Linked DNA regions of Homo sapiens: regions 1, 2, 3, 4, 5 and 6 are each linked to region 7. The links are contacts of gene promoters, found by promoter capture Hi-C in blood cells and fetal thymus (Javierre and others, 2016). All regions are on one chromosome and are shown on one strand. The core of a region is centred on a gene start or on the middle of the fragment in contact, and the rest is flanking DNA. Distances in the headings are between cores, read along the strand shown.

What was found. Contacts are between HindIII fragments. The CHiCAGO score rates a contact against its expected background, and 5 or more counts as called.
Region 1: a fragment that was not itself captured here is called in contact with the fragment with the promoter of WDR7 in region 7 in 4 of 17 cell types (monocytes, M1 macrophages, M0 macrophages and 1 more); the score reaches 18.1 in monocytes.
Region 2: a contact is called between a fragment that was not itself captured here and the fragment with the promoter of WDR7 in region 7, in 3 of 17 cell types (monocytes, fetal thymus and total B cells). The highest score is 8.8, in monocytes.
Region 3: a fragment that was not itself captured here is called in contact with the fragment with the promoter of WDR7 in region 7 in 1 of 17 cell types (erythroblasts); the score reaches 5.6 in erythroblasts.
Region 4: a contact is called between a fragment that was not itself captured here and the fragment with the promoter of WDR7 in region 7, in 1 of 17 cell types (monocytes). The highest score is 11.7, in monocytes.
Region 5: a contact is called between a fragment that was not itself captured here and the fragment with the promoter of WDR7 in region 7, in 2 of 17 cell types (naive B cells and M2 macrophages). The highest score is 8.7, in naive B cells.
Region 6: a fragment that was not itself captured here is called in contact with the fragment with the promoter of WDR7 in region 7 in 2 of 17 cell types (naive B cells and M0 macrophages); the score reaches 5.8 in naive B cells.

The regions. Positions count from the first base shown.
Region 1 is chr18:55,331,633-55,335,380 of GRCh38, forward strand. The region is part of intron 8 of TCF4 (transcription factor 4); the gene reads right to left. Among named protein-coding and RNA genes, the nearest start is that of TCF4-AS1, 120 kb to the right of the region's middle. The HindIII fragment of the contact is 8,028 bases long and covers 1-3,748 here.
Region 2 is chr18:55,312,635-55,316,492 of GRCh38, forward strand. The region is part of intron 8 of TCF4 (transcription factor 4); the gene reads right to left. Among named protein-coding and RNA genes, the nearest start is that of TCF4-AS1, 140 kb to the right of the region's middle. The HindIII fragment of the contact is 2,006 bases long and covers 1,416-3,421 here.
Region 3 is chr18:55,402,105-55,406,244 of GRCh38, forward strand. It overlaps TCF4 (transcription factor 4), which reads right to left. Exons shown (of 20, transcript NM_001083962.2): 6 at 1,350-1,414. Among named protein-coding and RNA genes, the nearest start is that of TCF4-AS1, 48 kb to the right of the region's middle. The HindIII fragment of the contact is 3,535 bases long and covers 615-4,140 here.
Region 4 is chr18:55,423,516-55,427,374 of GRCh38, forward strand. The region is part of intron 5 of TCF4 (transcription factor 4); the gene reads right to left. Among named protein-coding and RNA genes, the nearest start is that of TCF4-AS1, 27 kb to the right of the region's middle. RefSeq lists an enhancer at 1-333. The HindIII fragment of the contact is 719 bases long and covers 892-1,610 here.
Region 5 is chr18:55,369,710-55,373,790 of GRCh38, forward strand. The region is part of intron 6 of TCF4 (transcription factor 4); the gene reads right to left. Among named protein-coding and RNA genes, the nearest start is that of TCF4-AS1, 81 kb to the right of the region's middle. The HindIII fragment of the contact is 568 bases long and covers 1,825-2,392 here.
Region 6 is chr18:55,352,018-55,356,115 of GRCh38, forward strand. The region is part of intron 6 of TCF4 (transcription factor 4); the gene reads right to left. Among named protein-coding and RNA genes, the nearest start is that of TCF4-AS1, 98 kb to the right of the region's middle. RefSeq lists enhancers at 1-796, 1-522. The HindIII fragment of the contact is 707 bases long and covers 1,859-2,565 here.
Region 7 is chr18:56,649,641-56,653,411 of GRCh38, forward strand. WDR7 (WD repeat domain 7) reads left to right here and starts at 1,719. Exons shown (of 28, transcript NM_015285.3): 1 at 1,719-1,936. RefSeq lists an enhancer at 1,450-1,839. The HindIII fragment of the contact is 1,105 bases long and covers 847-1,951 here.

The sequences.
Region 1 (3,748 bases), core at 344-2,843, 1.3 Mb before region 7:
CTTCATGAAATGGGAAAATGAGCATATTACTAGCCAACAATTTTCAATAGAGCTATATCTACTTTAGACTGATAAAACATGCACACAATATGAGGACCTGTTCCCCTAGTTTCCAAATGTTCTAATTATTATTTTTGATTTCATGAACCTGGTCTGTCCTTTACCTAGATTATAATCTGCTGAGGATCAGGGATGAACCAAATTTTATTTGCTGTCCTGGCAGAGAGTGTATTCAAAAACATATACAATTCACAGAAGAAGGGGGCGTGAGGGATCTAATTTACCTTCCTTTCTCTTGTATAGCGTGGCTACTCTCTCAATACAATAACTAATAATGCCAACAACATGCTAAAGGCATAAAGATGGACACATCTATTGTCACTTTTGAGAGGTGATACTGTTATGCCACTTATTATGTGTGATGCAGACTTCTGTTTGTTTCAAATGTTCTTTAATTTTTTTTGGCAAGTCATCTTTACTTATTTAATCTATATTCTACTTTGAACATTCAATTATAAACATTTTCTTAGAGGGACACCATATTCTATGGTTAAATATTATTTCCTGATGACGTAGAAGAAAACAAAGGGAAGAAACAGGTGCTTTCCATGTCATTTCCACATATTTAACTTCTTATTTGTTGTCCTTTCCAACACATTCCGTTTATCTAGATTTGAGGCAGTACAGAAAAAAAAAAACAGCTTAAAAAATTATTTTGTTGCATTGTTAACAGAAATATATGTTCATAACAAAGGACCTCAACAACAATTACAGTAAGCCAGGTGGCTGATTCCATCTGTATATCATATATTACACTGTTATCATGGACCACATGATTACATAATTTAGGATGCACTTGCTATCACTGTATTTTTAAGAGTCATATAAGCTCTGTGTTTATTAGTCTGCAAGGAGAATCAGTGGTACCAGACCCTTATAAAGCATTACAAAATGAACTCTGATTTGTACAACTACATGTGGCCATACACACTTCGGTGCAAATCTTTCCAATGGCAGAAACATTGGCCATTGCTGTCCACCTTCCAGGAGGCGTGGCACTTAGTAGGTGTGCTATAAATATTTGTGAATTTTTCAACCTCGAACTTTAAGCTGATTCAGTGCCAAGTGAGTGAAAACTTCTGACTCACGTCAGTGTTTCTTTCCCTTTGAGGAGATATAGACTCCATTTGACAATATGGTAGGAATTATACTCTGTATCACCAGTTACTTCTGTGATGTATACACTTGATGAATATAATTTTGTTGACTAGAATTCTAAGAGAAAGGCACTAAAGTTTTATAAAGGCCAATTTGAAATAAACTTAAGATCTAAATACACAGAAGCCCACATCTTTTATGAAACAAGCCTAATCGGTCAAGTCTACCAAAAAATTTACTAAATATATGTGAACAATTAAATAAAACCTTTCAACATTCTTAACAAAGAAATATTTTGTCTGAAAGCATATTCTAAAATAAGTTATCATTCTGGATGTTTTAACCTTTTTTTCTTAAGGTTTCCTAACTCATTGATATCAAAGAGACACCTGGTAGCAATGCTATAGTTAAGTATCTGTCTGGGTTTCCTTCATAATTCCTAATTTTCAGATACTTGTAAGGAAATTGCCAGAATCTTAAATGTGCTATACAGAGTTGTCTGTAAAGATGCAAATATCATTTCTTATTCTCCTTATATTCCTTTCTTTCTACAAAATTTCAAAACTGCTCAGTCATTTTGAATCATACAGTGTATAAAAATAGACTTTTAATACTTGAGATATTTTATCTCTATTGTCTATGGCACTTTCTCCCACCAGAAAAAAAAAACAAAACAAAACAGAAAAACAAACAAAAAAAACCCTCAACTCACCTCCGCATTCCCCAATATATCTTAATTTCTTTGAATAAAATGCAGGTGCTTCATTTCAAATGGGGTCCAAAGACTGACATTTAAAGCTAACATCTTAATAAGTGGCTATGATGCTTAACATGTTGGCATTCACAGCACTTCCACTTGCCCCATGTAAGTAAAATTGGGCCATACCACCCTACTGTGTATTACATCTAATCTGGATTCTGTAATCTCAATTGCGATTATCCCTTTTGTTGTTTTCAAGACTGCAAGTTCACAGTGAAGTTGAAAGGCAGGACGAGGTTTATTTTATAGTGAATATTGTTTTTGCTCTCTGTTGTTGAGTTTGAAGCACAGCTGTGCAAAGTAGTTTCAATGAACCAAGGAATGGTCCCAGAACAACCAGCTCAGAACTTTGCCCTGAGTTCACAAACTATAGGCTACATGATAATTATATAAACTCCTCCAGAACTGTGACCCCTTTCATGAATTTTTAGCTGGATCTGTCTCAAGTAGTATTGATTTACATTGATCTCAAGGGTATTTTTTTTTCTCTGATTTTTACCCAATTTACACAGCAATGAACAAGGACTCAGCCTAATTTCATTTTCTATGCAGTAACTAGTGTTATTTGCATTCCATAAATGAAATGGAATGTGGGGACACAGACTAAACTGCTAATTCAAATAAAACCATAATATTAAGAGCATTATCTTTTATAAAAGAAACACAGTTTTATTTAGTAAAAGCATTATTCTTAATAGTAAAAACAATAAAACATCCTAAGCCATACTCTACATGTCTTAAAATACCCCGAAATAACTTTTATAAATAACATATAAGTCTTGTATTTATAATTAAGTGTGCACAGTAAATGCACTCTTTAGGTATAGTCCAATAAATTATAGGAGAAAAAATTCTGCCATAGTTTCTAATCAAAATCTCCAATTGCATAATTCCAAGATAAAAATGAACCTTAATTTAAAGCATTAAAAACTCTGAGCTAAGACCCCCAGCTTAGAAAAGACATTCCTTTCAAAAAAAAAGAAAACAGCATAACCTCTTACCTACTTAAAATTTATTCTAAATAGGAGTCAGTGCCTTCACCTTTCTAGAAATGAGAGTATATGCTTCAAAATAATAATTCAAAAATAAAATAAGTGATACCAGTAATTTGGGTTGTCAAGTTGAATTAATAAATTATTACTGGGCCAACCTGGAACCAAAATTATCAATCGTTCAAAATAATTCATAGTCTGTTCTAGGAAACATCTTAATCCTAGCTTAGAGAAAAGTCACTGCTCAGGAACACCTTTCTTCAGTGACTAAGAAGCTCAGAGGCACTCAATTTCTAATGTCAAAGATACCCATTTAAATGGCTTAATATCTAAACATATCCTGACAAATTATTCAGATCTTACTTTTCAAATGTGAGAGCAAAGGGAAAGTTTGGCAAATTGGTACTATGTTTTAAATTTAATCATAAAATCAATTCTTGGGAATTGCAAATAATGTCTTAGAAGTCAGCTGAGGACCAGATTTGGCCACTGAATGCTCTGTGACGCTCTTGCTGAAAGACAAGAACAGAACACACACATTCAAGCAGGAAGTGTGCCGGCCACAATCATGGGACTCACACCCAGGGAAACCTGTCCTTAATTTATCCCGTCGTGTGTAGATTTGGCAAGGATCTCCAAATATCATTTACATACCATATGCCCTGAATTACCTAGGCACAATGGCTGTGGATAAATATGTTTCAGGTCTGACTGTTTGCTTCCTTTTATAAGTTTTGCAGCTTTCATTTCATTTTTCACATTGCTAAATAATTTAATGTAATATTGCGTGTTGTAAAAGAATGTTGTGTTAAATCAATAAATAGTTCATTGTGTCCTG
Region 2 (3,858 bases), core at 1,169-3,668, 1.3 Mb before region 7:
AGCAAAAGTGACACTGTAAAGTTGGGCCAAGAGGATCTGCTATTACAGGAATCCTTTAAAATGTAAACGCTTTTAACAATCATGCATCTATTTCTAGCAGTTTTAGCTCATTCCCTGGAAGCATGCAAGAGGTGTGCTGCACTTTGCAACCTCTGGGAAGTAGGATTACCAGATTCACATCAACACATCTAATTTTACAGTTACCTTATTTAAGTTTTTAATACGGCACAGGTCTTTTTCTCAGGTGTTAATAGAAAAATCAATTTTAAGTCACAACAGCTGTGATCATTTTAAATATCACAGCTGTCATGAGTTGAAAATAACCAATTTGAGCATACAAGTTTCTGCTGCAAATGTAAGAAAGTGGAAATGTGATGGAATTTTATCTTTTACTCCCTCTGAAGCTGAATGTCTAATACAATAGTAGAGTAATAACTTATTGGCTTTAAAATAAAATCAGGCTCCCATTTCTTTACTGACCTAGCAAACAGATGGCTCAAAAGAACAGAGAAGAACATCATTTTTAAGATACACTCCTATGGCAACTGTGGAACATGTTTAATTATGGAAGTATTAACTCAGGAAAGAGTGAGTTAAATAGTTGATATCAAAATTGAGAGTTCATTTATGTAAACATTTTGTTGTGAAGCCGGGGGGAGATTAAGTGGGATCCATGCTACATATTAAGTGTTATTAAAATCTAGGAATTTAAATTATTACACAGGACAAAGTCTAAACTGATATGAGAATAGTGTTAACTAGTATCTTGCAGAAAATAATGGCATTGTATCTATTTCTTTGCAAACTCAAACTAGCCACTGGATGGCATGAAATAAAAGTTCCTCTCCCTTCCCCTTCAATCCAAATTTAATGTCATTACGTTTCAAAGACTATAATGACATTCCTAAAGAACTCAAAATTTAAAAAAGAAAAGGAAAGGACAGGGAAGGCATTATTTATTCTACTGGCTGAAGAAAGTTTAGATTTCTCTGTGTGAAATGAATTACGGACAATGAACACCCAAGAAATTCTAGAATTATAATAACAAACAATTATTGCCACCTATGCTCCAGGGGAGAGCCGGGCTCAAGTGTCTGAGAAATGATATTGCATGATTAATACAAGGAAGAACTCAACCAGAAGAAAAGTATAATCTTATACCAAAGCCTTGGTAATGTTACACAACTTTTTCAAAATGTTTTCAAGGTCTCCTAACATCCTGGCTGATATATAAGTAGAAAATAAAAATTTAAAGTATTTTCATCCCAGATCTTCAATCCTACTTCAATGAGTTTGACATTTCCCTCCCCCCCTTACAAATTCACAGAGTAGAGATAAAACGTTGGCGATATTTGCAACTAAACAACTTGTATGAAAAAAGTTGACACCAATCCCCACCCCATTTGGCTTAGGGAAGCTTAGTGCAGCAGGTAGAGGGAAGCCCTAATATCCCATATTATTTGCATATTAATTTCAAAGCGACATGAAAAACACTGTAGTCTTTTAATCACATCAACACACAAAAAGGCACTACAAAGTGAAACTACACTTGTTACACATTTATCCCAACCCCCACATCACACAAAGGAAGCCTAAGAAAACAGCATCCATCCAGCTCCTTTAATGCTGAGCCTCCACTTCTGTAATAACAGGTGCAGAAATAATAATGTGCTGGCCAATCAACTTTTTCCTCTGATTTGTCAGTTTAGCTTAATAATGCCATTAGGAATGTAAACATTTCTGCAATTTATATTTAAAAGTCAATAAAATAATGGGGTGCAGAATTTATCCTTTTTAATTTTTTAAGTAATACATTTGATTATTTTAATCACATCAGTACTTAACTGGATAGGGTTTAAATACGCATGTAACATCAATTTAATTTGTTTTATTCGTTAGAAAAGCTATTGAGTCATACAGTATTTATTCTCCTTAAAAAAAAAAAAAGACCACACATTCTAGGAGAAAGGGAGTACAGGGCACTTGTATCTTGCTTCCCTTCTTGGAGATGGGATTCTGGTGCCTTCCAAATGTCTTTCAGTAGGAGCATTTTAAAATGGTAACCAAAGAGGTGAAGATCCAATACACACACTAGATGGCTGACAATAAAAAAAAGGAGTGTTTCCATACTGTGGATAAACTTTATTGGGCTACAGTAATAGGACTGTGGTTGGTAAATGCATCAACTATTTTTAAAATGGTGTGAGTTTTTCCCAACATAGCAATTCCCACTTAAACAGGATCATTATTGGTGCAGTCATTCAGTACTCTATAATTCTCACCCTTAGGTTTGTGGAGGTGAAAAAGCCAAGTCAAATGTTAGCCTCCATTGTTAACATCCCCTATTCATTTTCAGGACAGCTACAATGGAAGCAGCTGGAATTCAACTCTCCCCACTCTCTCCCACCAATTACCTCAACATGCCCTCTCTCAAGATGAGTGTAATTTGGTCTCTAGGAAAGCACAGAGCTAGGTCCCTGGAGGATGCCAGCCAAAGCCTGCATTTTTTTTGGTTGAGCCTGAAATTAGACCATCATCTACACTGTTCCCACCTCTGACTTCTCAGGTGTTCAAACCCACTCTTTAGCCCCCCTTTTTTAGGTGGGGAGAACGGAGTTTAAAGTAGTATACTCTCCTAAACAGAATGTTAGAGGCGTAGTGTCTCTTTTAAATCTTTTTGGATTAAATACCTCAATGAATATGTGCAGATTTCTTTAAGAAATTAGGAAGAATAGGAAGAAAACTAGGTAAACAGAAGCAACACAGCATTTAGAGACAGAAATATCAGAAATGTGAACTCTTAAATTCTAATCAGAATGTGGTACTGTGCCATAAATACATCTGCAAATAAAAGGTTGTAGTTTGGAACCAAGTCATGGATCTTTAGCACTGCAAAAAGGAAAGTCTCCAAAGTTTAAGTGGAGTTCATGTATAATTCTCAAACCACTTTCAAGCTCAAAACCAGTAAATTTCACCTTAAGTATTCTTCAGAAGAAAAAAATTGTTTTGCTTAATAAAATGCCATGGTATCTATATACCTAAAATGATATGATAATGTGCCAAATAGTTTATTACAGAATTTGAAATGTTATAAAGCCTACAACTATGGACATTTTCTGAAAATTCCAAGTATAACTTTCAGTAGATCACTTCACACTAAAGGAGACAATTTTATACAAGTATCTTTTCCACTTTTGTCACTACTGATCTCTTTTTCCTGGTATACAAACAACTGCTTTTTTTTTAGGACTATGATGATTTCCTAAATAGATTATAAATGTTTTATGAATATACAGATATCCCTTTTTTTTAAGTAATCAATAATGTTTATCATATACAACTTTAGCCTGTGTCATCTTAGAGTTATGTTTGAAGTATTAAGGGCTAATAAAGTGCAATTAAACATATAAAAACTTGAAAAAGCTTAAAACTAAAATTACTTTTAAACTATGTTGACTGTGAAAGATTATTTATTTTGTAACTCTGATAATATTGGAGGGGGAAAAAAGGCCCAGTAATCTTTTATGTGTCCGCATACTGAAATTCTCACAGGTACAAGGCATGCATTTAGGTCAGCTGTGCAGAGCAAATATATGTCTCCACTGTATTTTCTTCTTAAGGCAAAAGTAAATCTGAATTCTAACAACTTTTACAATTGCCAGAACCACATCTAAAATCTCTAAATTTTCTGAATGAGTAAACAAGAGATTCATTTAATAGATCCCTGATGGCAGCATGTAGACCATGTATTTGACCTACAATAGTGATTCTAAAGAACTTAGACTGCAGCATTGTTTTTCTTAGTGGCAGAGCAGTAATAGAAGTTTCAAGTAGGCTTGGAAACACACACATACAAAA
Region 3 (4,140 bases), core at 1,132-3,631, 1.2 Mb before region 7:
CAGAATTCTTTCCAAACAAACTGCCATGAACTGCACTCCGGCAGGAGCTCTTAACCAAGCACTGTTCACCTCAATGCAACAAATCTTTCAGATGCCGAATATGACTGAATTGGTGGCTGGGCCAAGGGAGTAAACTTTAAAAATGCAAATATATACAGGGAAAAAACAAACACACCAACCCACCAGAAGTCGTACCTTCCTATGTCTGGTACGTAAAGGAAACTTTCCTCATAGGCTCGATTTAATTACAAAAACAAAACTTTGCTTACATTTTTCAGGGGTATATTAAATGGGCTGTTTAAAATAAAATTAAAATAGATTTTTTTCCCCCATCAAGAACATCAGAGGGTGAGAGAGTTCAAGAGAGTAAGCATCCCCTTTCCAGCATTTGAAAAAAAAAAAGTACATTTTGTTTGCGTGAATAATAAAAACAGTAGAGAGCTCTGAATATTAAAGAGGATTATTAAATTCCATCAAGAGTTTTCCAAAGTAAGAAACCAATGCACTTATAAAAAGGAAGTATAAATTTTTAAAAAAGATTTTAAATACATGATTAATACTGATACTGAACTGAAAAAGAAAGCATCTATAAAAACTCAGTTGTCTTGAAACAAAGCTTATACTTTTAGCTATTGACAGTATTTTTAGAAATAGGCTCTCTCTGGAGAGTTTAAAGTATACAAATGCAAAGTGCCCAGAGACACAAACACACACATGCTATACCTTTGTATTACACTGGCATTTTATTATTTAATTAAAGTACTCTTATTTTTCTAGCTCACGCATGCTTCCCTTGAGACGGCTTTGCTGTTAGCCTGCTGGCCTTGACTTCCAGCCAAAAACAATTCAGAAACAAAAAGGGACAACAAATCATATTTTCACAGACATTTTTATCCCTCAATACAACCCTGTTTTCACACAACATCATACAGCCCCTATGAAAACTATAATTTAGGGCAATAGCCACCCGAAACCCAGGGTCTGACACATGACTCCGCGAAGTATTTCCTGCGTAAGAAATTCTTAAGTTCTTAATTGCAAATAAACTCTTTTAATAGAACCACTTTCACCGACATTGCTGGTTTGCAAACAGTGCCACTGGTACCGGCTGATGGATTAAAAAATAAAAACAAGCCCATGAATGTAGTTCTGATACAGCAGCGATCTAAAGATGAGGTGTTTATTAGTTCTAAGCTCTGTGTTATTTCATTACTTAAAGAGAGAGCCATCATCTGACTTGCCGGTGCATCTTTGGTGTCACAGTTTAAAATGCATCATCTAATTTAGAAAACAAACTGATTTACCAGGTTAATCCTCTCAACCCTTCCGCAACAGAGATTCTCACTTACCTGGTGGCAACCCTGTAAGTTTGATTCTCTCCCATAAGATGAGTATGAGCCCCTTTCTGTTTTACCTGCCAAGAGAAACGACAAAAAAGTGTAAATTGTGTTTTTCCTTAAAAAAAAATCTCCTCCAGGTAACAGACATCTACTGCTCTTCCCCGATGTTTACATACGTAAAGTAGGCACTACTGGCAATGTATGCAAGCAAGAGAGGGAATAACACTTCCTCACTCTGGCTATGATAAACTGGAAAAAAATATCCTTCATTCCTATTCTTAGCCAAACTGCTCCACACTTCCAAAAACTGTCATTCCAATGGCCTCCACTTTCTCTAACAAACAAATCGTAACTCCTTATTTTCACTTTCTCTTGCACAAAATTTAAACAATTTCATTTTTATTTACACAGCAGGCAAATTATCTATGTAATGACCCTAGCCTAGTAATTCCCATTGATTATATTGACACTTAATAGTGAGGCCAAAACTAATCAATCACAGGCTCTCCAGATGGTGAATTTAGCAAAGAAACTATTCAAAATTCTGAGTCTCTCTCTCTCTCTCTTTTTTAAAAACTCCCTTTCCCAGGAGTGAACCCCATCATGATCAAGATGATGATGGAATTTACATTTGGGAAACAGGGCTTTTGAAAAATTGCCTACTCTGAACCCAAGTTCAGATTCCACCAATAGACCCAGCAGGACAAGGGATCATGGAATGTGAATGTCTTGTTCCAATTCTAACAACCCAATTTTTATCTGTAGACTGCTCTACAGAGATCTATAGACCCTTCGATGCTATTCGGCCACATCTAAGAATAAAATCAAGGGTGTTCATTTGTTTCTTTTTAAAGTTTAACCCCAATAATCATTAGGGAGGATAATGAAATCACATTACAAGAGATCTAAGCAGTAGAGTCCAGATAGTGACATGTGGAGAATCATTGTAGAAATCTGTCCATACCAGAACATTAAAAGGGGCTAAAAGAGGCAGGCAGGTGCCTAAGACCCCACCCCACGCAAGTCTAAAGGATACTTCTTTCGTCAAGACTGGAGCTTTACAGTAATTGTACTTGATACATAGGACTACAGTATTCCTTTTTCCAACAGGAAAACTCTAAACTTGTATTTTGAGAGGCTGAATAGATTTCCTTCTGAAGTTTACAACCCCCAAGTTTTCCCCTCTCAACTCAACACGAATGCTAAAAGTAACAGTAGTCTTTTTATCTTTTAGGTCAATGGCAATGGCAATGTTATTAGAGTATGCCTTCCTGACCCCACACAAAGAATGTATCTTTGATACATTTATATCCATAAATTTTTCTATGTGGTCAAAAGGGTATCCTGTATCCAAGTCATTACATATATAAAATGGATGGTGGTTTTCAAAGAAAGCCAAACCTAAGTCTTAAAATTAACCCCGTTTCCCAGTATTAACTTTTCTACTGATTTTAATGAATCTTAAAGTTGGGAAAACACCTCCGCCCCATTTCTGGTCTAGCGCTCAGCGCAAAGTATAAAATCAATGCCCCATATCAGTTTCAATTTCAGTGAAACAAGACACCATCGCACAGACTGTCAGTCTTAGAAGATCTAACAGAATAACTTCCATTGTATGAGGATTTTGCACTGAAGAAAAGATAAATTTATACTTGTATCAGCAGTGTGAATGGTCACAAAGACATATTTACTCATCTGTGTACATCAAATTTAAGCTACTTATACCCTTTAACTTCTCTCTATAAATATTACTAACAGAAAAGGCTCGACCTTCATGAGCTATCAAAGGACGCGTGTCCTTCCTTAAGCTCTTGCATCTAAGAATGCTTCAATATCACCATTACATCACTTACTTTGATGTAATATTCACTTGTTTAACAGGTAGATAGGCAGGCAGGAAGCTGGGCAGGTAAGGAGGCAGGCAGAAAGACAGAAAGATGGATAAAGTAGAATCTGCTCTGACTTCCTAAGAAACTGAACATCTAGTGTCCTGTTTTGGTAATTTCTAAAAATCCAAATTGTAAAATACAGTTTAAGGAAGAAAAAGCATCTATTTTTTTCTCTAGAAGGAATTCCTGAAGCTATCCCCTGTAGAATTTCACCACTCAGCATTATTTCCCAACTTGACTCCAACACACAGAACAGGAGGGAGGAATCTTTCTGCCAGGATTTGCCTCACTTATAGATATAAGTTGGGCTACTCCTTCCATTATTTTAAAGATAAAAGGGCAGGATTTTAAAAGGAGAGAGAGAATAAGTAGGAGAAAAACAAAGAGAGGAAGAGTGGAATGCAAAGAGCAAGAGGTAGGAAAAGAAAGAGGCAGGAGGGAGAGGAGGAGGAGAAGAATATGAATTCACGCTGCAGAGTCCCCAAAGTACTCTTGGCTACATGGAACCCAGCATTCTTTACTATCATATCAGATACAGACTGCTTAATCTTAATTTTGCTTGTTAAAAAATATTTATCCAGATACAAAAATAAACCCACTGCAAATTACAAGTTGTCAGGGTTAAAAATCTACTCCTGTTTGTGTGGGGGAGGATAAGAGACCAGCATAGACATGAATCATTCTCAGTAATTTGAGTGTTTCCATGACATCAATGGGCACCCGTCCAGGGCTCTGTCGAAGTCTGCGAGGTACCAAAGAGGCAGCACAGCCAGCAGGAGGCTGGGAGGTGGACTTTTTTTTTTTTTTTTTTTTTTTAAGGATTATGCTCCTTGTAAAGATTTCATCTGTAGCATCCACTTTTACCATCAAATAGATCGGTCCAGAGATCATGAACAAACACATTTCATTCT
Region 4 (3,859 bases), core at 1-2,500, 1.2 Mb before region 7:
TACCTACTTGACCACTTTTTTGAGCTAAAGTGTAAGTGAAGATGACAAAACATAGCTCATCCTCTCTCAGCCTCTGGGAACGGTGTTTATAAGTAAAAAAAGAAAAACAACACAGAGCAGATGGGACCATTACACATGACCAAACCAATCAATCACAGATGAAGGGCCCAGGTGCAGCGCAGCCGTGCAACAACGCACCATTTCACAGTCTGTCAGACACACACACACGGTCGTCCATGAGTGACCCTCCTCAGCTCCCCCCGGACCTCATCTGGGGCGCTGCGCCCCTCTCGCCTGCCTACACTCCAACTGACGTCTTCATAATCGCCCTGTCTTTCTATCTGCTTTGGCTCCTGTAAAGAGAGGAGGATGGAAGGGGTGGTGACTGGGCGGAAGGGGGGATGGGAGGGGAGATGAGGACAGGGGCTCACATCATTGTCACTTATGAGGAGTCCGGTCTTCCTCCTTCTGCCATCCCCATGGCCCCTCCCTCTCCAACCACCATCAGAATCGCTTTTCTAACCATCATTACGCTCATTAATTTTTAAGGGTGACTGCTTGGCTGCGGCACCCCAACTGTCTGCCATTAGAAATAGAAATTTTGTGTGTGAGTTTCTTGCCTGTGAGGAAAAAAGATGTGTGTCACTCGACAAAGTCATGATTAGATGGAAATGTTAGAAATTAATTAATTGGAAGTGGGTAGGAAGACTTTTCTTAGCCCCCTCCAGATTAGTTAACATGAGACTCTAGTTACCCACAAGCTTCCAAGGAATCAGCTCTGTCTCAAGATTTTGTGTCTTAAAGAAATTCCACAGCCTTTGGCATCCTATATCACAAACTCATCCAGGAATCACTGAACCCAAATGAAATTGTACATTTGTAAGGGTCACAAGCTTACACTGGCAACATAACTGAAACACCAACTTAAACACAAAGTTAGGGACAGGCTCCCTGCTTTAAACTCAGAATTCCTAACTCACAGCCTAACTTTCTATGGCTTGCAGCTTTCCTTTCTTTAAAACAAAACAAACAAAAAGCACAAAAATATCAAACAACAACTAAGGGGGGAGCAGAGAAAGACAGTAACCAATAGAATCAAAAGGATAATACACAGCACTGAGGCCCACCTACCCCATTTGAAAAAAAACTTCATCACACCACATCAGAAAAAAGCAGATTGGTTTTATTGATCCAATGAATTATTTAATCATGTCTTCTTCCTTAAGTCTAGGTAATTTATAACAGTTTTTGAGATCTTTTGATACAGTACAAATATTATAAAGAATCAACTATATTTACTCAAAATATTGAAAATGGATACTTTCCCCAGCTTTAGGAGATGCCTGCTCATCCGAAGAGTGATTGAATGTTCTCGACAATTTATAATTTATTTTGCCTATTTAGAGATGAGAAGGAGTTTAGGAAAGCACTCAAACCCTCCAAAGAACAACTATATGACTGCAAAATAGCTTAAAGGATTTATGTCCCAAAATGCTCATGACATTTTAGGCATTACTGAAAATTTACACTAAGAACAAGAAAAAGTTTAATCAAAATAGACCACACAATCCAGCCACTTTAAGGATTAAGTCAAGTTGTCATTTATGTGAAGCTTCATGTAATGGTGGAAAAAATGAAATAGAGTACAGGCTAAGTTGGGTGAGAAAGTGTCCTACCTAAAATCTGCATGCCATTCCATTTACAGGCAAAGGCAATTTTACACAACACTAGGCAGATTGGATTCGTTGAAATGAAAGCTTTGTCTCTTAGCATGGGCCCTATCATCAATTCAAACATATTTTCAGAATGGTTTGATGATGCACTTGTTTTTGGCTTTTTTTTTTTCTTTTGAGGATTCAGTATGCTTCCCCCAGCTCTTCACCAATGAATTTGTCCTTTGGAAACTTTTAAGTATTGAATGAATCTTTCCATTCCCCAATGGATCCTATAATTTTTATGCTTAGTCCTTGTTAGCAAGGAACCTCATATCTGAAGTCAAGGAAAAAAAAAAACAGAAAACATATTAACATCTTCCATAGCTATGTAGGAAGGGATCACCTTGTGTTTTGAATGAGTATATCTTTTCCTCAAGGAACAGACTCTACACATTTGCATTAATAAATTTCTATTTTCAAGCTCAATAGAAATTGCAGTACAAAAAGCAGATGTGTACGTTGGGCTCTTTCAAATTAAATTTCCAAAAGCAGAGCCTATTCTAGCTCAAGATCAAAGGAACTAAAACACGATCTCCTCCCCCTTCCAATATAATTACAGAGATTTCATTTCTTTTGTTACAATGAGCACAACAGGTAAATCTTAAACCTGAGGGATAATGATCAGGTGCTACAGCTCAGCTTTGCTGGGTGGCTCAATCGCTCTGCTCAGTGCCCCTGCTGTTTAAACTACCACTCTACAGGAAGATGGGAAATGCCTAGTGCTCTACTTTATTCTTGGAGATTTGTTTCCTTTTCCACATCAAGACTACGCAGAATAGCTCTGAGATGGATACAACCCATTTTACAGCAGACTTGTTTCTAAAGAAGGGACATGTCCATCCTAAAACACAAACCAAGACAAAAAATTTTATATATATATATATATATACACACACACACACACATATATTTTCATACGTGTCTTTTATTGGTAGGCTACCTAAAAACCCTTTTGGAAGGATATGGGGTATAAATAATAAATAAGTGAGAACTGACATGGTTGTGAAATGTCATATCCTGGCAGTCCTATAAAAGGACAAGACCCTAGGGAGGCAGAAGAAAGAGATGCAGCCACAGATCATCCAAAACTGAGGTTCCACAGAAAATCTGTTCCACTTCAGAATGATTAGCATCATCTACTTCTTTGGGGAAGACAGGTGAAGAGAGAACCAAATTTAAGTCAATACCCACAAAAAGAGTGAACTTTGGGCAAGCACACCCTCTAGGCTTAAACATCCTTGAGAGCAACTGCATTCTACATTTGTATTTCCATCTCCCTTTTAAAATTCCTGGTACCTCATTTCATCCTTTGCTGCCCATAGGCATCTGTTCCCCTCTAATTATTTGCCATTTAGAAAAACTCTGCTTAAATTCCTTGTGCATCTGTCCCTTGCTTAGTGTATATTTGTGATGTTTCAATATGGTGCTTGATTTTAGAGCAGCCTTGCATGTAAGTACAAAAACTTTTCCAACCCAGAAAAATATTTCAATACCCTCTCCCCTAAAGAGTATGCACAAATTAAACACTACCAGTATTTTATAAAATAAATATGTACTTCTATATATATCATACTAATATACAAACATATACAAACACAGACACACAAAGACACAAACACAGACACACAAAGACACACACACACACTCCTCAAAGCTTCTAGTGTGTCTACCAACCAGTGTCATCACAGTATAAATTCCAGTAACAATGTTCTTTCCCAAAATACAGTCTTTTACTTTTAAGGAGCTAAGGTTTCCTAGCTCCTGAATTATTTTTTGGTCATAGATGAAATAAAACACTATTTTGCATGAAGATATCATTTCAAGGATATCTACCTCTTGAGAATATAAGGGGGAAAAAAACTTTAAAAACCAGACAGTTCAATAGCATCAAAAACCCCAAATCCAACAGGTTTAATTATTTCCTATATCTCTTCTACACACCCTTCCTTCTCCTTGCCCATTCCTTCATTCTTCCAGCTTCTTTTCCCTTTTCCATACTCCATTCCTTAAAGAAGAGGTACTGGATGAGGGGAAAACATTGGAAGGGGAGCCTGGAAATATGGCTTCTAAATTTCAGTTCTGCCAATAGCTAGCTGTATGAGTGTCCATTTTCTCATCTGAATTAGAGTAAATGATTCCTCAGC
Region 5 (4,081 bases), core at 859-3,358, 1.3 Mb before region 7:
TGTTGGGGGGCGCAGATATCAGCAGCTGTATTTTTTAAGCTGACATAAATAAAAATGTATTCATTAAATGTTTATAAACGTCAAAATTCAGTAGCTTACTAAACCGGGTTCTTTAGCTACTGCTGAAATATCAGCTTGTCAATCTGCAGAAAGGAGCTGGGCATTTTTAGCTTTCAATTAAAAAGTGAACATCAGAGTTTTATTTGTGTGTGTGTGTGTGTGTGTGTTTGAAAATGCATTCTGCAATAGATCAAAGGGAAGCTGCCACTGCCTCCAACACTAGTCTCAGGTACCAGCCTGGCCATCCCATCGTGGAGGGCAGGCCTTCATAGCTGGAAGGCTGCAATAGCTTTACCCACAACCAGCACAGTCTGACCCCAATCTCAATATTACGTTAAAAAGAGAAGGCCGGGCGCAATGGCTCATGCCTGTAATCCCGGCACTTTGCGGGGCTGAGGCAGGAGGATCGCTTGAGCCCAGGAGTTTGAAAGCAGCCTAAGCAGCACAGCAAGACTCAGTCTCTACAGAAAATAAAATAGAAAAAAAATTAGCCAGGTATGGTGGTGCACACCTGTGGTCCCAGCTACTTAGGAGGCTGAGGTGAGAGGATCACTTGAGTCTGGGAGGTCAAGGGGACGGTAAGCTCTGATTGCACCACTGCTCCAGCCTGGGCTCAGTACATAGGTAGGTAGGTAGGTATGTAGATAGATAGACAGATGATAGATAGATAGATAGATAGATAGATAGATAGATAGATAGATAGATAGACAGACATATAGACAGATAGATGTAACATAGAAACACTCAATTGACTGAACAAAACTACAAAGAGCTTAAGTGAGCACCTTAGCCAGTCCTCCTAATTCAAAATGGGCCGCTCACCATGGCGATGTTTTTCTCAGAACAAGAACTTTAGGATGCTCAGACTGTACATATAGTGCAAATGACAACTCTCCCCCCCAAAATTAGAGTGCAGTGATCTAATGAGGCCTCAAAGCATGAAAAAAAGGATGAAAGCATCTCCTTAGATAGGAATAAAATCAATTTGCACAAAAAAGAGACCAACTAAAAAGGTGTGGGGGTGAGGCCACGAAAATATTAACTAAGAGCCAGTTAGTAAGTAGGGAAATAATGAACAGAGAACAGGAGAGGGAGAAGGAAGTGAAGTAGGTATGAGTTAAACTGTAAAATGTGTTTCCTTTACAAAGTTTTTGAGAATGTTTTATACTATGCTATATACTTGTGTGGGGGGAAATGTTATTTTTCTTATAACTTTTGCATTGAATTGAGACATTTCAAGTGACCTGCCCTGATTCAAACCTGAATGTCTAATATAATTCCAAATGAACATGTCATGTAGAAAGGCTGTATCAAAGCTTAGACATATATGGTGTGACTAGCTATTTTGGTATTATTGAGGTCTCTGGAGGTATTTTTATTCCTCCTCCACTTTGGCCACTGTATGCTTCTTAATACCTCCTCCAGGAGGCAGCCAGTTATACCTCTTCATTAGTTTGTGATACTTGGTCTTGGTAGAAACATGATCAGAGGGCAGGAAAGAGTTTGAAAAAAGAGGCTAAAATAATCTGGATGAGGGGGCCATAGGGCCAGTAGGAGTCTTGCCTGTCGGGAGTCAGAGGAACCTGGGATCCAAGCCTCCTTAGACAAGACACTTAACTCCCCACAGCCTTGGCCCCTTCATTTGTGGACAGGAGACATTCACTGTACCTACTCAAAGAGATGCTTGGAGAAATAAAGAAATCATGCCTGTGGAGACTATCACATATGTTAGTACAAAAGGAGTGCTTCGGTGAGAGCCAAGGAAGCTTTGTTTGTTCATTCACTTATTTTTTTTTAAGTGCCAACCAGGGACCAGGAACTTTACTAGATACCAAGAGCACAGCAGTCAACTCATGCCTACATTTACAGCATGGATTTTAATCAATGACAACACTTCCGCTGGGAAACACTCCTCAACACTTCCACTGGGAAGTCTGACATAGAGACGCCTCTCCCCAGGTTCCTCTGCACCTAGCACGTGTCTCAAACATGCATGGAACTGAAATCCACCCTATGCTGAAATTATTGTCACAAGTCTCTATTGTTACCCACTTGCTTCCACTCTCAGCTGTGAGGTCCTGGAAGCTGGGGTTTTGTGTCTCTGGCACTGAGGGCTGCTTATACATAGCAGATGATGCAAATTTAGCCAATGGATTAATGGAGAAATAAATGAAAGAATAAATAAATAAAATGACTTATAACCTCTCAGTTTTCTAATTTATAAAAGGAGAATAATAGCATCTCCTTCCTTATAAGGTACTGTATTTGAAAGCATTTAGAATGTGTAAAGTTCCATATAAAGGGGTTGGCTTGGGATGGTAGATTAAACATAAGCTTCTACTTTTCCTCTAACCTCATATGTCATAAATGATACTGGGTGTGTGTGTATGTGTGTGTGTGAATTTAGAAGAGATATACATGCCAAATAGTGCCAGAAAATAAGGAAGAGTAGCTTCGGTGGAATAACAATTTTGAATTATTCTTAAAGATAAAAGTAGATGGATTTGCTCTACAGAGGAAAAATAAATAAATCACAAGCCAAAAAGCAGCAGCCAATCAAGAAGACTGCAAAGAAACAGCTAAATCTAGGATGCTCCAATCCCAGGGTCAATACATACATGGAGCTGGAGTGGAGTGTGATGCAATAATCGGGTGATTAATTGGGGTGCTACATTTAGAGCTGCAAGGCAAGCCAGAACAAAAATGTGACAGAAAAAGGGGATACAAGACTTTAAAACTCAAATTTTATATGTAGCCAAACTTGCCTTCAAAAAGGTGAGCTAACTACAGGCAATTTAGAAAATGCAAAGACTCTGAAAATTTATACCCCCACACTTCTGAAAAAAATTACATAAGGATATATAACTGTATAATGACAAATCAACCCAAAAAAACCCAGAACAACATGGTCCACAAAAATTAGCAAGATGGGGCAAGGAAACGCTAGTAGACTCTATGTGACTGTTGATGCAATTTAAAACGTCAAAAAGGAAACATATCAACCTCAACATGAGAGGTAAAGGGGAGGAACAAAGGGAGAAACTCAGTAATTAAAAATGTGCTAACACTCTCCGTCATCTTTTTTAGGAAAGATACAGACACCAAACAGATTTAGACTTTAATAGAGATATATAATTTGAAATATGTGAGTTAGAAAGGCAAGAATAACTTTCACAAGAAATAAGATGTATAATTCCTGCACCATTAGAAAAAAAAAGACCTTTTTTTAAGCAGCAAAAAATATAAAACAAAGGAAATGTGATCAAGCCAAGGAAAAAAAGAAAATTAAACTATGTTTATTTGGATATTATATTCCTCAACTAAGTTACAGTGGCTGTCACATTAGGCTAGAAAAATGTAAAGCTAAATGCTGTGTATAACAAACCATCAAAAATAAAACACAGAGACTATGAAAAATAAAAATATATAAAAAATATGTAATATAAAATCTACAAAAATAAAGCATGTAGAGAACATTACTATACATTGAAAGCCAATCTAAGGCAAAAATGTAAAAAAAGAAAAAAGTTGGATATTTCATACTGATGAAACCTATAGTCCACCAAAAATATAAAATATTCCTGAACTTCTAATCATTTATGATACAGCTTTGAGATATATTTTTTAAAATATAAATACCCTGAGCGGTTGGTAAATCCATAATCAAAGTAGAAGACTAGAACAAATATCTCTCAGAAATTTAAATCAATTAGAAGGACAATAAGTAATAAAAGGTTTAATATATTAAAATAGGGAAAATAGGCCGGGTGCAGTGGCTCACGCCTGTAATCCCAGCAGTTTGGGAGGCTGAGGTGGGAAGATCAGTTGAGGTCAGGAATTCAAGACCAGGCTGGCCAAAATGATGAAACTCCATCTCTACTAAAAAAAACAAAATGTAGCCAGGTTGGTGGCACATGCTTGTGATCCCAGCTACTTGGGAGGCTGAGGTGGGAAGATTGCTTGAAACCGGGAGCCGGAGGTTGCACTGAGCTGAGATCGTGCCACTACACTCCAACCTGAG
Region 6 (4,098 bases), core at 962-3,461, 1.3 Mb before region 7:
ATGTGTTTTCCCTAATCTAAATTCTAATCACCATGTCACTCACAACAGACTTAGGGATGCTTCACTAACACACTATTCACATGCAAAATACTCTAAATAGGCCAATTATGACTCTGCCCCTGTTCCCTGGTTAACCCGCTGAGAACTGAAAAATTTCACAAGGCAGTCACCAACTAAAACAAAGGGTCCTTGTTTTAAATTAAGACAGTCTTTTTGATTCCTAAATAGCTCAACAAAGTGGCATGTCTTCTAGTGAAAGCAGTTGGTCAAATATGACCCATAAGCTGGAAAATCAAAAATTCAAACCTCCCCTTTCCACCGCCATATAGCTAAATATCATAAAGAGAACCTCTCTATTCCAAGGGGTTTTTCTGAGTGTTGGATGAGTCATATATAAAGGACTAATCAGCTACTGACAAGCTCGCCTTTACTGATTCCAGTTTAAGACTTTTTCAAGAGATATGTAATAAACATTACTTCAAAATACAACTTCAAGGATGAGATTTCAGATTGAAAGCACATTTTGAGTAATAAACTCATTGCTAGTATCTTAATGTTTACCACATAAATACCTGATAAAACCAGATTTATCAGATAAAAATCTGACATCTGCATGCTCAACTATTGCCTCTTTTGAACTTATGAGACATATTAAAACACTACACAATGACAAACTAAAACATAAGGCTTATTATAATAAAGTTTTGCATAAATCAGAAATCTAGTAACAAATAATTTATCATTTAGGAGTGGCATTCAAAAGTTTTTGAATCTCAACCTAAATTTCACTCTTCGCATTTCTTATTAACAAAGAAAGTTACAGTGAAGTCTGTGTCCAAGTTTTCTTTGAAATTTCCATCAATAAAGCTGTGAATGATTTGAAATCACAACCTCCTTACAGTTTGGTAAATCTACGAATGAGTCTTCATTTCATTGGAAAGAGGAGTTTGAAAATAACTTTGTATTCTAGACACAAATCACCCCTATTTCTTCATTTTTCTTTCTCTAGAAGTATATTAAATATTCAGAAAACGGCTAAGCAAATATGTTGAAATGCTTGCTTGTGTTTTTAAATGAGTTTAACCATTGGTTAATTCCTCTTGGTCCTGGTGGCAAAGGTTTTCACTCTCAAGAAATTAAATGCATTCAAGGGGTCAACCTAAAAACACACACTTGCTATACTGTCTTTTAGCAGCATTCACAATAGAGCTGTGAAAAATATAAAATAACTACAAAACAGCTACAGGCTGTGGTTGACCTTATTGTTGTTAACTTAAAAGAAAATAATTTCATGGGCCAGTCATAATAAATCACGCATCCAACTCTTACATATGCAGGCGCAAGGACTATGTGCAGTAACATAGCACTAGGACCAGATAGCACTTACAAACCTTTAGTGGTTCCTGTTAATCTTTATTTTTTTCACAAAGCACATTCCTGTTTCTTTCTCCTTAGACCTGTTTGTTCCTATTTCTTTCTCACTTGGACAATAGAATCATTCTTCTAAAGCAACAAAAATAAACATTTCCTCACATTTAAGGGGGCCCTAAACACCTCCTTAGGGAAAATGAAGATAAAAATATATGTGTTCTTATTGTAGAGTATACTTATAAAGCGAACAATGACCATTTACTATTGTCTGGCCTTTACGTCAGATACTTAACTCTCTGTAGCAATGAGAAAGATAAATTTTCCACTGGCTGAAAAACCTGAGTTTATGAATTTTAAAAAGTGAATGGCGTTTGATTTAAAGTAAATTAAATTTTGCACAAAATGGATAAGGTATTTGTTTATATTATGAATTTACCTGCATATATAGATATAGCTCTGAAGACAAGTTTCTGCTTAATAAAAGTTAAGCTTGAAAACTACATCTACTTTCAAAATGGGCAAATTCATCCTGGCCTTAAATAGGATTATAATGGTTTTAGGTTTTTCACATTGTGCAAGCTCATGTTCTGCGGTTATGCTGGGTCCCAGTAGTAGGCTGCCCGAATCTGCCAGGAAACACTGGAGGCAGATGTGGCATCTGGCAGAGCTAACCTGTAAATCTTAAACCCATAGTTTAGCATTTTGCTTAACTGTCCACAGTGTGATGAGACAAGCCCTTCCCCTTACTCGCTCCTAATTTTTTTTCCCAAAAGACCTAAAATACTGTAACCAAAGAATAAAACACACTGACTTTATCAACCAGGTTGGAATGTTTTGGGGTTCACCCTCTGCAGCCAATTCCCCTGCAAATGGCCATTCCTAACTTGGCCATTCAAATCCCCAAATACAGCACTCTGTGAGTGTCTTTTTCAATTAAAATTTTGTTGTTTGTTTTACATCGGATTTGTTTGTTTTACATCAGATATAGGTCTCAGAATGTCTTTCGAACACATTCTCAACCCTGCCCCCATTCCTTTTCAGGGGAGCTTCTTAACAGCCTTGATCAACCACTGAACTTTGCTTATACAACCAAGAAAGCAAACCATGAATTAAACTTGAGTAACAGAAAAGCAGCATATATCTCAAATTAGATTTATAACTGAATGGTAATCAAAAATAGAACTCACTGCTTGAAGCTTAAATTATCAACTTTTTTCTAGTTAAACTAAAATCATCTTGCTCTGAACTATTATTTCATTTCAGTCAGCACTTTAAATGTAATGGGTGGGTGGTACATTTCTAAAAAGGAAGATTATATTTACACTTAATTATAGATATGACTGAGATCAGAGTACGATGAATACTGCTTTTTTGGCTTATAATTAATGCATCTAATAGGTGAATGACCTTGAATTTCAGAGTTGGAAACTGGAAGAGGGGAAAAAAGAAGTAGGAGAAAGAAAATCTCTGGAGAAAAGCAAATGTGCCCCTGGTTTCTCAGGGCTTTCTCGATTCTGCGTCACTCCCATTACGTTGTGATCCGGTATCAGACACAACATCTTGGGGGGATGTTGCAGAACAGAGAAAAGCAGTCTCAGATGAAACCAGATTAAGCTCTTTTTCTGAACTATTGCCAAATGCTTGTGAGTCTAATTCATGTTTGGGTATTCTAGTACTCACACAGCTGCAATTCCATTCTTTCATCACAAACCTAAGTGATGTATAGTGGCTTTGTATGGTGAACTGACTCTATAAAGCCAGGATTTTTTAAAATGTTAATATGGAAAAAAATTCTGAACCACTATAAAACTTATGAATGCAAAATATATGTGTAGGTATCTACCAGACTTTGTGGCATTAAATGCAAAATACACATTGAGTGAAATTACAAGTTAGATTTGTTTAAAATACCTTTTATCACAACCTAGGTCATTTCTACATAGCTAATTCTGCACAGAATCGGGTTTTCAAAGACACTGCTGAATAAGATTCCTAACAGCCATGGGGAAGTTTCTGTAAATCCCTGTCGAATAGTTGCTGCTGAATGTGCCATTCTGACCACAGAAGGGCCATTGCTGACTTACTACAGTAGCAGGAGGGGGGCGATAATTTTGCTGCTGTTGGCACTTACTCTGCAACCTAGAATATATCTCGCACCAAAGGGCAATGAAGAACACAGTATTTCCACCTGTCCACTTTTGAACTTCAAAGCTCAAAATTGAAGGTCAGTCTTTGGACAGTCTTCTTTCCTGATTCCTGAAGGTCCAAGAGTACACCTTTATAATTTATTTTTATTTCTGTCCTATGCTTGGTTTCAACAAAAGAGGACTTGGGTAACTTACAAAGACCAAGATATCTTGCAAATCAGGGACTTAAAAAACTGCTGTGCTGCAGAGAAATACAAATTACTGAAATTATTATTTAGCAAACATTTTTAAAGGTTTTTTGTCAGTGTTTTTTATTTCTACATTAAACATATCATGCACATTGTGTCTGTAACAAGTCAGAAGTAGAAGTCAAATCTATTAAGGAAAGAGGGAGGGCTTTAAGGTCAGACCAATCTGGTTGAACCTTAGCTCAAAGAAATACAGACAATGTATTTGGGGGTGAGTTATGCAACTGCTCTAAACCATACTTTCTTCCCGTGTAAAAAGGGACTAATAAGAGCTCTATCATAGGGTTATCAGGAATAGATGAAACAACATATGTAAAATGTTCCGCAGAGCC
Region 7 (3,771 bases), core at 469-2,968:
ATTTATGATTCTTTTGCAGTGATAACCATACATTTTTGGTTACAACAACAATGACGACATCTCACTTGTCTCCTTGCTTCCCTGTATTTCCCACCTGATTTACATGGCACATTGCTGCCAAATTAATATTTGTGGCTGGCCCATCTTAAGTGACCCCGATAAGTCACACTCTTGTATAATCCTTTCTCCTTGAGTACAGATAAAACCCGTGACTTACTTTAACCAATAATATATGGCAAAGGTGATGGCTGTCACTCCCTAATTTAGGTTATCATCTACATCCATTTCCATATCTATGTCCATGTCCATATCCATGGCTGTATCTATATCTGTGTGACTCCTTTCTTGTGCTCAGTAGAGAGATTCTCCTTGCTAGCTTTGAAGGAGTATGCTGCCATGTTGCGAGAGAGCCTTTAGTAAGGCCCATGTGGTAAGGAACTGTGGGTGGCTGCTAGGACCTGATGGCCACTTCCAGTTCAGAGCCAGTAAGAAGCCAGGGCCCCTAGTCAGACAGCCACAAGGAACTGAATGAGCTGACAGGAGTTTGGAATCAGATTCTTCCCTAGTTGAGCCTCCAGATGAGAATTGCAGTTTGGCTGACATCCACTTGTAGCCTTGTGAGAGCATGAGCACAGGACTCAGCTAACCTGTTCCTGACCTCCTTGCCCATGGAATGTGAGGCAATACATATGTGTTGCTTTAAGCCACTAAGACACTAAGACTGTGATAATTTGTTGTAAAGCAATTTTAAAAACCTGAATACCATGTGGTTAGGAAAAGTGCTACACTATTTATTAGTCAAAAGTCTTCAATTACTTTTCATTGTCTTTGGAATAAAGACCAAAAAGCTTATATGGCCACTAAAAGCCTCTTGTTATCTACATTATTCTATTTTTCCATGTTACTTTTTTATTACCTGGTCTAGGCCGAATGTGATGAAGTCTCTATCAACCCACAAGAGAGCTCCAGGGCATAGACTGCCTGTTAAAGGAGCCGCTCACGGAGCAGAAACAGCTAAGCCCTGATACCACATTTTCCCACTTCACCTACTTCACGTCCCTTGTATTTCTTCCAAATTTAACTTTCTATTTATTGCATATATTCATGTTTTACATTTCAATGCTGGTGACAAAGTTGTTTTCCTTTCCCAATTATTATTCCAAATCTGACCAATTTTTCTAGACTTCCATATGACCTAATGTGATTATCCTTCCTTACCCCAACCTAGAAATAATTCATCTCTTTTCTTCCTTGCTCCTTATTTGGCATTTCTCATCCTGCACTATACTATAGCTTATCTATCTTGGGGGACATTTGTCATTCTTTTTAGCTTTCCAGCATCCAACATACTTTCCAGTGTTTAGGGAATTCCCTACCTCTTGCATCTCAGTGGGAAGCAGTGTGATGGGGTCAGAAGTGTAAACTTGCGCAACATCCTGCTCCCAAGAAAGACGTGCACTTGCTACTTCATCCTTCGCTCCATCTTGGTCCTCCCAACTGGAGAGAGGACAGCCTAGACGAGACTTCCCACAACCAAGATGGCGGCCGTGCACTCCTTGCCCACAGCTGGCCTTTTCTCCACTTTCGGTCTCCATCGTAACGCGGCTGGCTCTCTCGGCGCCGGCTTAGGCCTTGCAAGTAGGGAAATGGTGAGTCTTTCCCGCCCCCTCATTTTTGCGACAGTTGCAGCGAAAGTCACGGCAGTTGGGGCTGGTGTCAGCTGATTTACTGCAGTGGCGGCGGCGGCGGCACCGGCACCTTGCAGTATCACTGGGGAGACGGCGGCTGTATAGCGCTTGCCGCCCCACGGATTATCCCAGCAGGATCTACGCACCCCGCATCCTCCGTAGTTCCGCCCTATCCTTGTCCTCCTTGGCTGGGGCGCCCACCGGCGGTCTGATAGGCTACATCGCGGCATGAGATGAAGCTGTGACAGGTAAGGGGGCTTTCAAGCTTCTCCATGGGAAACCACAGGGCGGGATGTTCCTGCACCGTGGAGGTCAGGGGTCAGGGGTCAAAGGTCACAAACCCGCTCTAGCCGGGGGCGGTGCTAGCTGTCAGATCGCTGCGGCTGCAAGCCTGCAGGTCGGGCCCAAAAGTAGGCGCCGTTACCAAGAGCGTGGGGGCCAGCCGGGGGTCTTTGTGGCTCCCTTGCCTGGTGAGTGATATTTGCTACTTGTGACAGTTGCTTTGGTCTTGAGGTGGGACTGCCTGGTTCCCAGGTGCAATCTAAACGGGATCAGGTGATTGGTGATGATCGTTGGTGGTTATTGACAGCAATTTTGGGCGATGTGCTTGCTTTTGGGGTTCATATAGTCTTTCCTTTCCTGTTGGTACTATTTTTGCCCATGCCCAAGGTACTGACACCACTGTTAGAATTTCATTTTTGAGATGCCATCTGCCAGTTCTTATCCCTTTGCCCTAGTACTTGTCTGAGCGGATGCCAGTCACTCCCATTCACTTAGTGATGGGTCCCAGCGTTCTGAAGCTATGTTTGAAGTCAGCACTACCCTAACTTTGATTCAAAAATTGCTGTTTTATGTTTTTTACCCACTTAGTATGTCACTTTTTGAGGCAGAATTTGCTGGGTTAGATAGTCTGAAACTAGGGAACCTACCGTCGCATGACAGGCTGCATTGATATTGTTGATGCTGCTGAATTTAGGGTTCGGTCAGTGGCAGCTATAGCTTCCTCTCACTGTAATATTTGCCATGAGACAAAAAAAGGCAAACTGACTCTTTCAGGTGTTTATGTCTTAGGATTTTATGGGCAAGGTTGCAGGAATTGCCTGTTGTATGAAAGAAATTAACTGAGTTTTTGACATTTTGTAAAACAAAAATTTTAGTTTGACTCTGCTTCTTGCTTTATAAACAAACTCGTGGCTGTATGAAGGTCAGCTTAAAAGTGAACATAATGTGTTGAAATGCCCTCATTATTACAAAGAATAAAAAACTGTCTAGTTCCATCCAGAACAATACATATTAGTTATTATAAATTGGGAAAACGAACCACTATAAATATAATTAATGCTTTATTATTAATGTCAATTAGGGATTATGGTAGAAAATTCATTTATTTTACTGCCAATCCTTATTTTAAGAGTGTTTCAGAGAAATACTTTAAGAGAAAAATGAGAGTATGCCCTTTATTTTTTCTTATTGCCACCTGTAACTAAATTTTAAAAGATCTCGGTGACTGGGTGAATCAAAGGGACTGGGCTTGGCTTGGTTTGAATATCCCTGTAAGAATTTAACTTAAATTTTAGGGGTAGTGACCCTTGTATCTTACAGTTTCCTTTTATCTTTGATATATGTTCCGTTTTGAAGTTAAAGGAAGTTGGGTGGTTTCTCCATGTAACACACTTAGCATCGAAAATCTTCAAAGTAGTGAGCTTGTTTTGTGTTTTCTTCGTGAGAGGGGTAGGATGACATTTAGCTTTAGTGGTGTGATGTTTATTAGATGTATGAGTCCTTAAAGTTCATTTTGGACCTCAGGTGCAGAGGATGGAGTTAATCTTACTCAATTCAATGGGCTGTTCAAGGCATCTCCCCTGCCTGCATTTTTCGTTCTTCTTTTTTTTTTTTAGATGGAGTTTCGCTCTTATTGCCCAGGCTGGAGTGCAGTGGCGTGATCTCAGCTCACTGCAACCTCCCCATCCCGGGCTCAAGCGATTCTCCTGCCTCAGCCTCCTGACTAGCTTGGGATTACAGACTGTGCCACCATGCCTGGCTAATTTTTGTATTTTTAGTACACATGGGGTTTCACCATGTT